4 separate regions of the Homo sapiens genome follow, and regions 2, 3 and 4 are each linked to region 1. The links are contacts of gene promoters, found by promoter capture Hi-C in blood cells and fetal thymus (Javierre and others, 2016). All regions are on one chromosome and are shown on one strand. Each heading gives the region's core, a stretch centred on a gene start or on the middle of the fragment in contact. The rest is flanking DNA. Distances are from core to core; before and after follow the strand shown. Region 1 holds the start of PAF1 (PAF1 component of Paf1/RNA polymerase II complex). Region 2 holds the start of ERF (ETS2 repressor factor). Region 3 holds the start of ARHGEF1 (Rho guanine nucleotide exchange factor 1). Region 4 holds the start of RPS19 (ribosomal protein S19).

Region 1 (2,875 bases), core at 177-2,676:
GATGGTGACCCCCAGGTCTGGCTCAGTCAGGAGGTCATGTTTGTGCTGTTTCTCCAAGGAAGTGGCTTTGTACTGGACGAACCTGGGTGGGGAAACACCTATTGTGGTGTTTGGATTCCAGCTTCACCCCTCACAGCCCTGCTTCCCAGAGGCGGAGCTTCTCTGGGGAGGAACTCAGAATGAAGTGTCCCCCATGGCAGAGTCTGAAAGCTGGCTCCCCAGTGGGAAGGGACTTGGACACTGCTTGCTCCATTAACAATTGAGCAGCTACTACTATGTGCTAGGGTAGGTACTGTGCTAGGCCCTGAGCAGACAGCAGCCAACGAGACAAGCAGTCCCTGCCTTCAAGGAACTCATACCTGAGTAGTTTTCCCATTCCTTAGTCTCACCTGTTCTGGTCGAAGGGGTAGGTGATGAACTTGGGGTCGAAGGGGATATCAGGGAGGCTATTGCAGTACTTGACTCGGCAGACCACTCCAGACCTAGGAACATTAGTGGCTCAAAAGTGGGCCCCCGCTGCCCCACCTCTGCTCCCAGCCCCACTGCCCCACCGCTCCTGGGAAAGCACAGTGGGGCTCACCTCTCAGGCAGAGTCCGGTGGGAATTGGGCCTAGTGGAGAAGAAAGAAACAGTGATAGGTGGAGAGGACGGGATTGACAGGAGAATGAAAAAGGCTTCCCCAACCTTTCAAAAGGTAGGAGGGGTGACAAATGCTGGTTTCTTTGGGTGGTGGTGTGGGGAGTGTCCAAATGCTTTAATGGAAGGAGACAAATGTTCAATTTATTTAGGAAGAAATGCCCCCAAAAGCTTTAATGAACAAGGCCAAGTGCTCAATCCCTTTTGCAGGAGATGGCTTCAAGTGCTTTAATAAAGAACCATGTACTCAATCGTCTTCGGAAGAGGGGTCTCCAAACGGTTGACTGGAGGGATCCCTTCTGGAGGGAGTCTCCAAAAGCCTAATCCCTGAACTGCACGGCGGGGAGGAGGGGAACACCTGAATCTCAGAAGGAACCCGCCCCCTTCGTCAAAGGTGAGCGCTTCATGACGTCACGGGCAGACCTGGGGGCTGGTGACGTTGTTCAGCAGAAACCCTCTCCCGATCCCCCGCCTTGCTGCAACAGAAAAGCGTGGCGCCTACCTGTGGCCATCCTCCCGCTGGGCCTGGGTCTGGATGGTGGGCGCCATAGCGACGAGGCGACGGCAGCCCGGACGGGGTCCTAGCGGGACCGAAGGGGGACGCAGAGGGGCGTGCCGACTTCAGGGGACGCCTGATCCGAGGAAGGCCCAGCTTGGCGCCGCTCCCCGCGGAAAGTGGGTTGAGATGAGGTGGGCGGGCGAGAAGAGCTCCAGCGAGACTCAGGTGAACGCGCAGGCAGCACCGGGGACGGACTCGAAGCTCCGGTTCCACCAACTGCCGCCAAGACGCTGAGGACCCAACGGGTCTCCTCAGGCCGCGACGCCTTCGGGGAAATGAAGTCCGGCTCGGAACCACACACGGATTGGCGAGCGTCTGGGTGAAGGGCGGAGCGAGGGAGAGAGGTGCTTCTGTGATTGGTGGAGAGATATCTCAGTCTGGACGCAGATTTGAGAGTGACGTAACGTTGGGGCACCTCCTTCCCCTCCATTGGCTTAATTGCCTAGGGGGCGGGACTAACTAGCAAACGGGGACTAGAAATAGGGATGCTGAAAAGCAACGGGGAGAGACGCAGTCGTAACGCACTTCCGGCGGTCTACGCGAGGAAGATGGCTGCATCCCAGCAGCAAGCTTCAGCGGCTTCCTCAGCTGCTGGTGTATCGGGTCCTAGTTCGGCTGGCGGCCCGGGTCCCCAGCAGCAGCCGCAACCGCCAGCACAACTGGTGGGCCCTGCCCAGAGCGGCCTCCTGCAGCAACAGCAACAGGACTTCGATCCTGTGCAGCGTTATAAGATGCTCATCCCGCAGCTGAAGGAGAGTCTACAGGTGATTGGCCTTAAGCAGCGAGAAGCAAACTGGATTTGGTAGTCTAGAGGGGCAGGCCGAGGGCCAGGTTAGTCGGAGAGAGCGCTAAGCAGAAAGAGGAATAGAACCTGCTGTTTTGGCCTGGCTGGTGCACGCCTGTGTTCCCAGCACTTTGGGAGGCCGAGGCGGGCGGATCACTTGAGGTCAGGAGTTCAAGACCAGCCTGGTGAAACCTCGTCTCTACTAAAAATACAAAAATTAGCCGGGCATGGTGGCGCGCGCCTGTAATTACAGCTACTCGGGAAGCTGAGGCAGGAGAATCGCTTGAACCCAGGAGGCGGAGGTTGCAGTGAGCCGACATCGTGCCATTGCACTCCAGCCTGGGCAACAGAGCGAGACTCCGTCAAAAAAATAAATAAATAAATAAATAAAACTGTTGTTTTCTGCGAGACCTAAGCGAAGCTCGGCAGAGATGGGATCAGCGCTGATGCTGAGGCTGGGACTGGCCGGAGCTTGAGTGAGGGGTTGTTTAAAGGAGAAACTGGGCTCTGGTCGTTAAAGCCTGAGGAGAGTACTGGCTTATACGGAGATTCTGCCCTTGATTGATAGGTGAGGGAGGACCCTTAGGTTATTGGCGAGAAGCTCAGGTGAGAGCGGGCCTCTGGGAGGATGGAGTGGTGACAGCTATAGGAATGGAAACGAATATTACTTTGGAAAGTCAGGAGGGAAGGTGCCAGTTGAAAAGAAAACCTGAGACTGAGTGATCTCAAGAAAGAGTGTAGATCTGCCAGAGGTATTCCCTTTTGTTTTTCCATTTCCCACGTGTTTTGTTTTTGTTTTGACTAGACCTTGATGAAGGTTGCGGCCCAAAACTTGATTCAGAACACTAACATCGACAATGGACAGTGAGTGCAGCCCCCTTTACCAGGATATTCTA
Region 2 (2,875 bases), core at 245-2,744, 2.9 Mb after region 1:
ACGTGACTGACCCTACCGCACTCCGCACCCCGGCCCCACCCCCAGGGCCCCTCCTCGGTCCGGGTCCCAATCCCCTGGCGCCGGATCCCAGCTCGGAGCCCTTTAAGATTAAGCCGCCCCCACCCGCCGAGCAGGGGGATGGGGATGGGAATGGGGTGGGAATGGGGTGGGGATGGGGTGGGGTGGGTGGGCCGGTCGGGGCACACACCCGCACACAGGAGCCCGAGCCGCCGCCGCCGCCGCCGCCGCCGCCGGGGGAAGGAAACAAGTTTGAACAGCGGCGCCCGGCCCCCTTCCCCCTCCCCCGTCCCCGCCCCGGGCCGGATTCCGACGGGGTAGACGGGCAGGGGGCGGCTGGGACCCCTCCCCCTGCGCGCTCGGGCGCAAAGTCCAGCCCGCGCGAGCCCGGGGGCGGCGGGGGAGGGGAGGGGGAAAAGTCCGAGTGGGAGGGGGAGTTAATCCCGCTGCCCCCCGCCCGCCGACCGAGGGGGAGGGGAACCTTGGCCCCTTAAGGAGGAGCAAGTTGGCGGGGAAGAGAGGGGCGGAGGGAAGAGACGGCCCGCTGAAAGAGAAGAGGTGGATCCGGGAGGGGGGGCGAGGGGGGAGCCTCTGCGTCTCCCCCCACCTTCCCCACCCTCCTCAACCCCGGGCCACCGGTGGCGCGGGAGGAGGGTACCCAGGTCTCCCCGGAGCCACCTTAAAGCCGCGCGTTCTAAGGTCGGAAACAAAAAGTTCCTTTTTCGAACGTTCGGGCTGCGCTTTGGAACTTTGCGACTCGGCGAGGGCGGGGGAGCGAGGAGCCGACAGAGGCGGGCGGGGGAGGGGCGGCGCAGCCAGGACCCCGAGTCCCGGGCTCCCCACTCACGCCCTCCTCCTAGAGGCCATCCCGTATCCCCCGCTAACCTGGTGCAGGGCACGCGCCGCCGTGAAGGTCACCAGCAGGACCGCGCAGCGCAGAACCAGGGATAGCGGGCCCGGTGGACGAGCCCCCCCGCCCCGCACACGTCCCGGCCCCCAGAGTGCAACGTGACAAGAGCGGAGGGGAAGGACCCCGCCACCCCCGTGATCCCGGGAGTGGGGGAGAGCCCGGCCTGCGGGGTCCCGGTAGGGATACAGGACCAAGACCCGCAGCACCCACACCACTCCGCCCGGAGCCAGGAATCGGGGGTCCCAGGCAGCAACCCCGCTCGCGCCACGAGAAGCAACAGGTCTCCAGTGCTTGAGGGGTCCCCCAGAACTGGGGATCACTCGGGCTCCCCCGGACCCCTTCAGCCCCCCCAAAGTTTCTCCGTTCGGTTTCCCGGGGCAACAAGTCTCCCCCACACGTGCTGCCCCCGCCCCCACCTGTGTCCGCCGGGGTCTTCATGCTGGGGGGCCCGGGGCGAAGCGCCCCGATTCCGGGCCGCGGCTCCCGGCGCCCTCGCTGCCCCGTCCCGTCCCGCGCCCGTCGGGCCGCCCTCGCCGCCTCACCCGGCCTCGCCTCTCAGAGCCTCTCCCCTCCCCGCCGCCGCCTCCCGGGTTAATATCGCACTCCGGGGCCGGGACGCCCACGCCCCCCGGCCGGCGACGTCACCGCCGCGTCGCCATGGAGACACTGCGCCCGCCCCCTCCCCGCGCACTCACACACACGCTCGTCGGCGCGCAGCCACTGAGGACCGGCCGGCTCTGGGCTTAAAGGGGCCGCGCGGCGGGGGAGGGAGGAAGGAGGGGGTGGGGGTGGGATGGGGTCCCGCGGGTCATGACCCTAGTCAGAGGCTCCGAGTCTGCAGCTAACTTAAGTCTTCGGCACTCGCTACCTGCTGCCCCTCCTCCTCTCCTGCCCACTGCGGGCTCCAGAGTTTCTTTTGGGAGCCTGTATGGGAAAACGGGGGGCCCTTCCGAGGAAGCGGGGGTCAGAAACTTTTGTGGGGAGGGGGCAGAATCTTCTCTGCAGAGGGGCGGGGTCAGGACCTTAGAAGATGATGAAGACCACAGCATTTCCCAGCTTGGTTTTACCCAACCCCCCAACCCTGAGCCTGAATGGGGGCAGCTGTCCAGGGGTGGGGTGGAATGGGTGGGATGCATTTCCCAGCATCGGAAATGGGGAGGCGGCTGTGCCCTCCGCTCCTGTGGGGATGGGGTCTTGGCTTCCCTGATAACCCCCGTCCAGCTGGGGAGGAAGTGACCAGAGAGAATGCATTTGGAAGCCCCCACCACCACCGTCCCCAGGCTGCAGCTGTCCCGGGGATAGGGCTGGCGCCGGAGGTCCCCCCACGTCCACTACTAGGACCGGGGGTTCCGGAGGCGGGGCCGGGATACGAGGGGGCGACCAAAGTCTGAACAAATGTGCTCCCAAGGGGCACTGAGGGTCGCCAGGAGAGAGGAAGACAGGGCTTAAGATCGAAAGCCAGAGCGTAGAGAAGTGTTAAGTCTCCGTTCTCTGCCTCAGCCGGGAGGGAAGGATGAAGCCTGAGGCTCTGGGAAACAGGAAATCACAGCGCAGATCTGATGGAGCCCAGGAGCCGGCAGCAGGGTAGAGGCCAAATAGAAGCAATATTCACAGGCATAGCCTGGAAACAGAGTCTCAAAAAAGACTCTGAGGTTCCGAAGGAGGGGCGTATGGGTGGCGGGCGGGAGTTGGGGGGGCTGGGTGGGGGACGAATCCAGAAGATGGGCGGGGAGACAGAAAAGTCACAGATAGGGAAGGCCTGCGGAGCTCAGGCTCCCGGTACCCAGGGCTTCAATCCCAGCCTCCTCGCTTGCGGGGTACCTAGTCCACCTTAGACAGGCTCCTCACCAGTGCCTAAAAAAAAAAGTCTCAGGCCTCCTCCTTGGGGAGACCAAGGGCTCCAGGGAAGCTTTCCCCCACAACCCCCGGGAATTATGTAACCTTGCC
Region 3 (2,875 bases), core at 1-2,500, 2.5 Mb after region 1:
CCGGCCGCTTTTTTTTTTTTTTTTTTTTTTTTTGAGGCAGAGTCTGACTCTGTCGCCCAGGCTGGAGTGCAGTGGCGCAATCTCAGCCCACTTCAACCTCCACCTCAAGCGATTCTTGTACCTCAGGCTCCCGAGTAGCTGGGATGACAGGCATGTGCTACCACACCCAGCTAATTTTTGTTTTAGTAGAGACAGGGTTTCGCCATGTTGGCCGGGCTGGTCTCGAACTCCTGACCTCAAGTGATCCACCATGCTTCGGCCTCCCAAAGTGCTGGGATTACAGGCATGAGCCACTTTATGCGTATTTAAGCCTTGGAAACACAGGGACTATCTTGTGGATTGGGGCTAGTACAGAATTCAGACTGCAGCCTTTTCCCGATGCGTTGACTTACAGAAGGGGCATTTTGGAGGGTCTGTGGTCCTAACCTGGGGATAGCAGGGAGATCCCGGGGCAATGACAGAGAGGCACAGAGACACGGATTTCCTGAGAAAGGGAGAGGAGAGAGGCTGAGACCCAGGGATCATGAAGGGGACGAGCAAGGGAAGGAAGAGATGATGAGACCCTGGGAATCCGGGAGAGAGACAGGGACGTGGAGAGAAAGGGACAGAGAGAGAGCGAGAAGGAAAGGAAGAGACAGAAGGGAGAAGGGGCAACCGAAAATGGGCACGAAGAGGCCCAGGCACAGCAACAGCTGGGGAAATGACAGAGACTGAGACGGAGATGCAGAAAGATACAGAGAGAGCTGGAGAGGGTAGAGAAGGGCTTTCGGGGAGAAAGTGATGGAGGGACAGAGAGGAGAGGTGGAGGCCAAGGAGGGAAAGACCCCAGTAGAGAAAGACAGAGGGACAGAGAAGGGGATGCAGACGCAGGCGGGAGCACACCCACAGAGGCGAAGGAAGGGCGCAAGACCATGAGAACCACAGACGCGGAAAGCCGGGGAGGTCGTGGCTCGGTCTAGGGCGCACGGGGAGCAGGGCTTGCCCCCCAGCACCTCCGGGGAGGTGACCCCAGCCGGGAGATGCGAGTCCCGCGGAGCCCGCGCCCGGCGGACGGACCGATGGACAAAGCCGGGGAGAGCTCGGGCGCGGCCGGGGCGGGGGCCGGTGCCCGCAGGGACCCGGGCGCAGCGGGGAAAGGAGGGGCGGGCAAGCGGCGAGAAGGGGAAGGAAGCGGAGGTGCCGGGCGGGCGCGGGGCGCGGGCAGGAAGCGGGGAGGGGCGGCGGGGCGGGGGCCTCCGGAAAAACGCCCCGACTTCCTGCCCCGCCAGAGCCAGGAAGCGGGAGCCGGGACCCAGGGCCCGGGATCGCCGAGCCCGACCTCGGGCGCCCCGCCGGTCACCTCCGCGCGGACACCAGGTACTCGGTCCCCGGCCCCGCCCGGCCTCCTCCCCTCGGCTGTTGGGGGAAGTGGGGAGGAGGAGGGAGGGGCTGGGGCGCTGCCGGCAGCGGAGGGGCCCCCTTCGGACCCCACGGAACCAGCGGCCGCCCCTCCTTGGGCCTCAGTTTTCCCATCTGTCAAAGGGAGCAAAGAGGGGAGAACTCACACTTGACGAGTGCCCCATAGGTGGGGACGAACGGTGCGAGGCCGGGGCCAAGGCCTCCCACCTGCTCAGTGGAGAACGGACGATCACTACCATTGTACGGGTGGGGAAACCGAGGCCCGGGGAGCCAAACCGACTCGTCCCAGGGAACGCACATCGTGAGAAAGTGTGGAGTTGGGATTTGAACTCGCACGTGCTTTCCGCAAAGCGCCATCCTCCAACCCCCGCATGCTTTAGGGCCACCTAAAAATGAAAAACAACAATAACAACAACGACGAGGGTCGCTGTGAAGCTGAAAGTTGCAGAGTGCATTTGAAAGAGTTTTCGGAAAGCTCTTTTCTAGGTCATTAATTATACCGTGAGAGACAGGTGTAGGGAGAGAGCTGGAGGCCTTCTCCCATTGTACGGATGGGAAGACTGAGGTCTACAGAGAAGTCATTACTTTTTGCAGATTACACTGCATGTCAGAGGGAAAGTTGTGCTGGAACTCAAGACTATTGCTTTTCCGGTTCCAAAGGAAGGGGCTGGGGGTGGGAGACGGAGGGGATTGATGTACGAGGATTGGAAATTCAGCGGGTCCCCTAAGTGGGGAGACTAATAGGACGGGGAGCCCCAGTCCGCCGTCCGAGTGCTCAGCGCTGGGGTGACTAGGAGATCTCCGATCGAACTCGGGAGGAGTTGGACCCATCTGCACCTCCGGGCGCGGGGCGGGGCCCGGGGAGTGACGGGGGCAGTCGAGATACGGAAACGCTGGCCCTCCAAGACAGGCCAGAGCGGCCCTATCTGGCCTGCGTGGCGCAGTACAGCGCTAGAGCGGCCGGCGGGAGGAGTAGAGTCGTCGGGGCCGGAGCCCGGCAGGAGCCGGGCTAGAGCGGCTGGCAGGAGGAGTGGAGCTGGGCGCAAAGGTGGACTCAGGGCGGCTAGAGCGACGCGGCGGCAGGGGTGGGGAGAGTGCGGAGCCCGAGCGCGGAGGCTTCGGTTCCGGTGGCGGCGATGGCTTCTCTTTCCACCTGGAGCAGGTGAGGGACGCGGTCCCCAGCGGGTGTCAGACCCTGACTCTGCACGTCCTCCCCGGCATCCCTGGCCGTGCACACTGCCACGTCCCCCGTAGGATTTAGGGCCCGCGTAAGACCCGCCACGTCCATGTAAGATTTGGGTCTCGTGTAGACCCGCCTCATTCCGTATAAAGTCTTACAGACCCTCCAGGTTCCTGCCAGCCCCCCATGGAGAACTGGCTTCTTATAGACGTGGGGTCCTCATAGACCAGTGGCATCCCCTAGAATCCGGGGCTCTATAGACCATGGGTCTCGGGACCCACCACGCACCCCTATGGA
Region 4 (2,875 bases), core at 282-2,781, 2.5 Mb after region 1:
GGTTGCAGTGAACCAAGATCACATCATTGCACTCCCGCCTGGGCGACAAAGCGAGACTCCAACTCAAAAAAAATTAAATAATAATTACTTAAATTATAAAAAGTGAATATAAATTACCCAAGTACCTGGAGATTTCCAGTTAGACATGCATATATTACCCACTTTGAATACATATGGAAATATGTATGTGTTGGTTCTGGAAAAACAATTGAGATAATGAAAATATTTTCTCAAGTTTTAGAAACAGTATGAGATAGGTTTCAACAACATTCTACATGAATGTAAAACCTTGATTTAAATATATGATCTTATGCTAGAAGCATGGTTGGTTTTAATTTTTCTAACAGATACGAGTCTTGGCTTATTAATAATTAACACATTTTGCAGCCACAGTATCAGTGTGGGGTAAAATTCTAATATTTGCTCTTATGTTTTAAATTCTCAGTCTTTCCAACATAAGAAAATAGCTACACACATTTCAGTGTTTCCTTTTTGCAACAAGTTAACATAATTTTATTGGACCACGTTATTTAGTTGTTGGGCCTTGTAAGGATTAAATGAGATCATGCATGTAACACTACAGTAACAGCCACATGATAAATGTCCAAATAATATTTACCTGTGCCTGGCACAGAGCAGGCACTCAAAAAATATTTTTTAGAGCATGTGACGCGCCATGAACCAGAGGAGCCACTTTAAATGGACAAACGGGGATCTCATTTTTTTTTTTTTTTTTTAATGGTGAGACAAGCCCTGAGAAGGCAAATGGACTGCCTAAAGCTACACAGGTCAGCGGGGCAGGTAAATCTAAATTGGCAAAGTAAGGGCTGAGCGAACAGACTCCGACACTAGAAGGCAGAGCTGAACTAACTTCTGCTAAGGTCCCGCCTCTGCCGCTTTGTCCCGCCCTTATCTTCTCCCCTCCTCCAGCGCCTCATTCCCTTTTCGCTCGCCCCGGCCGTGCTGAAGCAACTTCCGCCCTGAGAAGGGTGGGGCTTCCGTCTCCCGCTCTCGCGACTCCTGGCGGTGAAGGACGGAAGATGATAGCCACATTTCTTCCTCGCCCTTCCCCTAGGTTCCCTGTCACAGTTCCGCCCTTACTACTCCCACTTCCGGCCAGGGAACAGCCACTTCCACCCGGAAAAGGGGTTGTTCCGCCGTGGGGCGCCAGCTGTGGCCCACCCATCCTGCCCCGTACTTTCGCCATCATAGTATTCTCCACCACTGTTCCTTCCAGCCACGAACGACGCAAACGAAGCCAAGTTCCCCCAGCTCCGAACAGGAGCTCTCTATCCTCTCTCTATTACACTCCGGGAGAAGGAAACGCGGGAGGAAACCCAGGCCTCCACGCGCGACCCCTTGGCCCTCCCCTTTACCTCTCCACCCCTCACTAGACACCCTCCCCTCTAGGCGGGGACGAACTTTCGCCCTGAGAGAGGCGGAGCCTCAGCGTCTACCCTCGCTCTCGCGAGCTTTCGGAACTCTCGCGAGACCCTACGCCCGACTTGTGCGCCCGGGAAACCCCGTCGTTCCCTTTCCCCTGGCTGGCAGCGCGGAGGCCGCACGGTAAGCGGGGGCTCCGAGCTGGACCGGGCGCGAGGCGGCAGGGCCGGACGCCGAAGCCTCAGAGCGCGTGCCTGAGGGCCCCGAGGCGCCCGGCGCGGGCCCGTCCCGCCCCCTAGAGCCGCGGCCACGTGCGAGCGGCAGGCCCGGACATGCCCGGTCAGCGCCGTCCGGGAACCGAGCGTGGGCCCCGGGGGGCAGCGGCGGGGTGCGTGGGGCGTCCGGAGTCCCGGGGCTGGGGAGTGGGGTCGCGCAGGATCCTCACACGCAGGGGCCGGGCTCTGTTAGTGCGATCCAGAGAGGCCGTGGGCGTCGGTGAGCTCCTTCAGACCCGCAGGAGCCGGAGCCCGGCGTTGAAGGGGCCGTGGGAAGTAACGGGGGGTACCACGGTTTAGGATGCGCTGGAGCGAAAGGATTGGGGTGGGGTCCGTGCTCTTGGCAGTCGTCTCTGCCAGGCCTGTGTTCACATGCTTGACTTTCTCCCTCAGATGCCTGGAGTTACTGTAAAAGACGTGAACCAGCAGGAGTTCGTCAGAGCTCTGGCAGCCTTCCTCAAAAAGTGAGTTTGGGGACTGAGGTTCAAAACGGGTGGAGGCTGTCGCCTTGGCCTGCCCATCTGAGCCCCAGTGTTTGCCGGTCCCTGGCAGGCGAGGCTTGTTTGGGGCCTCCGTGGCTCCTTTCAGCGTGAGGCCTGGCTTGTGTTCCGGTTCCAGCCTCTCTTTGTACTCTGGGCACAGCATAGTTGTGTTGAGGGGAGGGCATTTGGGATATGGGGTAGTTTGTGGAGATGACTGAATCGTGCTTTTCCCACTGTTTTGGTCTTAGGTCCGGGAAGCTGAAAGTCCCCGAATGGGTGGATACCGTCAAGCTGGCCAAGCACAAAGAGCTTGCTCCCTACGATGAGAACTGGTTCTACACGCGAGCTGGTGAGGAACTTAGGTCTTTGGCTGGAGAGTGGGGAGCTGGGTGACCCCTGGCACAAACCATACTTCCCTGTCTCCTCTGAGCTCTTTCCCGCCCCAAGAGGGAGAGAAACCCTTGGTTGTGTCACCACTTGCTTTGTGTGATGTGACATTCGATAACTTGGTACTCCAAGTTTTTATGACATTCTAAGAGCTTTGTGAGAGGAGGACCTGTGGCTTTGAGCCTCAGGGGAAACCAGAGACAGATGAATGTTCATATTTTGCTTACAGGTGGTTTAATCCTTTCTATATACACGGAGGCAGACTCCCTGGGTTTGGATCCATCTTTTACATCTGGCTGTGTGTCCTCTGGCAAGTTGGTTAACCTGCCTGTGCACTCTCTCATCCCC

The links. Contacts are between HindIII fragments. The CHiCAGO score rates a contact against its expected background, and 5 or more counts as called.
Region 2: the fragment with the promoter of ERF here is called in contact with the fragment with the promoter of PAF1 in region 1 in 2 of 17 cell types (activated CD4 T cells and fetal thymus); the score reaches 11.0 in activated CD4 T cells.
Region 3: the fragment with the promoter of ARHGEF1 here is called in contact with the fragment with the promoter of PAF1 in region 1 in 6 of 17 cell types (total B cells, fetal thymus, total CD8 T cells and 3 more); the score reaches 11.6 in total B cells.
Region 4: a contact is called between the fragment with the promoter of RPS19 here and the fragment with the promoter of PAF1 in region 1, in 6 of 17 cell types (total B cells, fetal thymus, total CD4 T cells and 3 more). The highest score is 8.7, in total B cells.

What each region holds. Positions count from the first base shown.
Region 1 is chr19:39,389,680-39,392,554 of GRCh38, forward strand. It overlaps PAF1 (PAF1 component of Paf1/RNA polymerase II complex), which reads right to left and starts at 1,427. Exons shown (of 14, transcript NM_019088.4): 1 at 1,139-1,427; 2 at 581-610; 3 at 390-482; 4 at 1-82. The coding sequence starts at 1,185. MED29 (mediator complex subunit 29) reads left to right here and starts at 1,699. Exons shown (of 4, transcript NM_017592.4): 1 at 1,699-1,959; 2 at 2,785-2,843. The coding sequence starts at 1,744. It also overlaps a transcript of SAMD4B not described here. RefSeq lists a silencer at 85-216 and an enhancer at 1,754-2,043. The HindIII fragment of the contact is 958 bases long and covers 806-1,763 here.
Region 2 is chr19:42,253,634-42,256,508 of GRCh38, forward strand. ERF (ETS2 repressor factor) reads right to left here and starts at 1,495. Exons shown (of 4, transcript NM_006494.4): 1 at 1,345-1,495. The coding sequence starts at 1,366. RefSeq lists silencers at 1-116, 237-356, 447-516, 597-1,286, 1,297-1,696 and 1 more and enhancers at 1,052-1,551, 2,192-2,723. The HindIII fragment of the contact is 3,576 bases long and covers 1-2,835 here.
Region 3 is chr19:41,881,934-41,884,808 of GRCh38, forward strand. It overlaps ARHGEF1 (Rho guanine nucleotide exchange factor 1), which reads left to right and starts at 1,251. Exons shown (of 29, transcript NM_004706.4): 1 at 1,251-1,356. RefSeq lists silencers at 936-1,445, 2,310-2,459 and an enhancer at 2,326-2,535. The HindIII fragment of the contact is 8,882 bases long and covers 1-2,875 here.
Region 4 is chr19:41,858,724-41,861,598 of GRCh38, forward strand. It overlaps RPS19 (ribosomal protein S19), which reads left to right and starts at 1,532. Exons shown (of 6, transcript NM_001022.4): 1 at 1,532-1,566; 2 at 2,052-2,122; 3 at 2,389-2,489. The coding sequence starts at 2,052. RefSeq lists an enhancer at 1,235-1,990 and silencers at 1,544-1,673, 1,734-1,853. The HindIII fragment of the contact is 18,374 bases long and covers 1-2,875 here.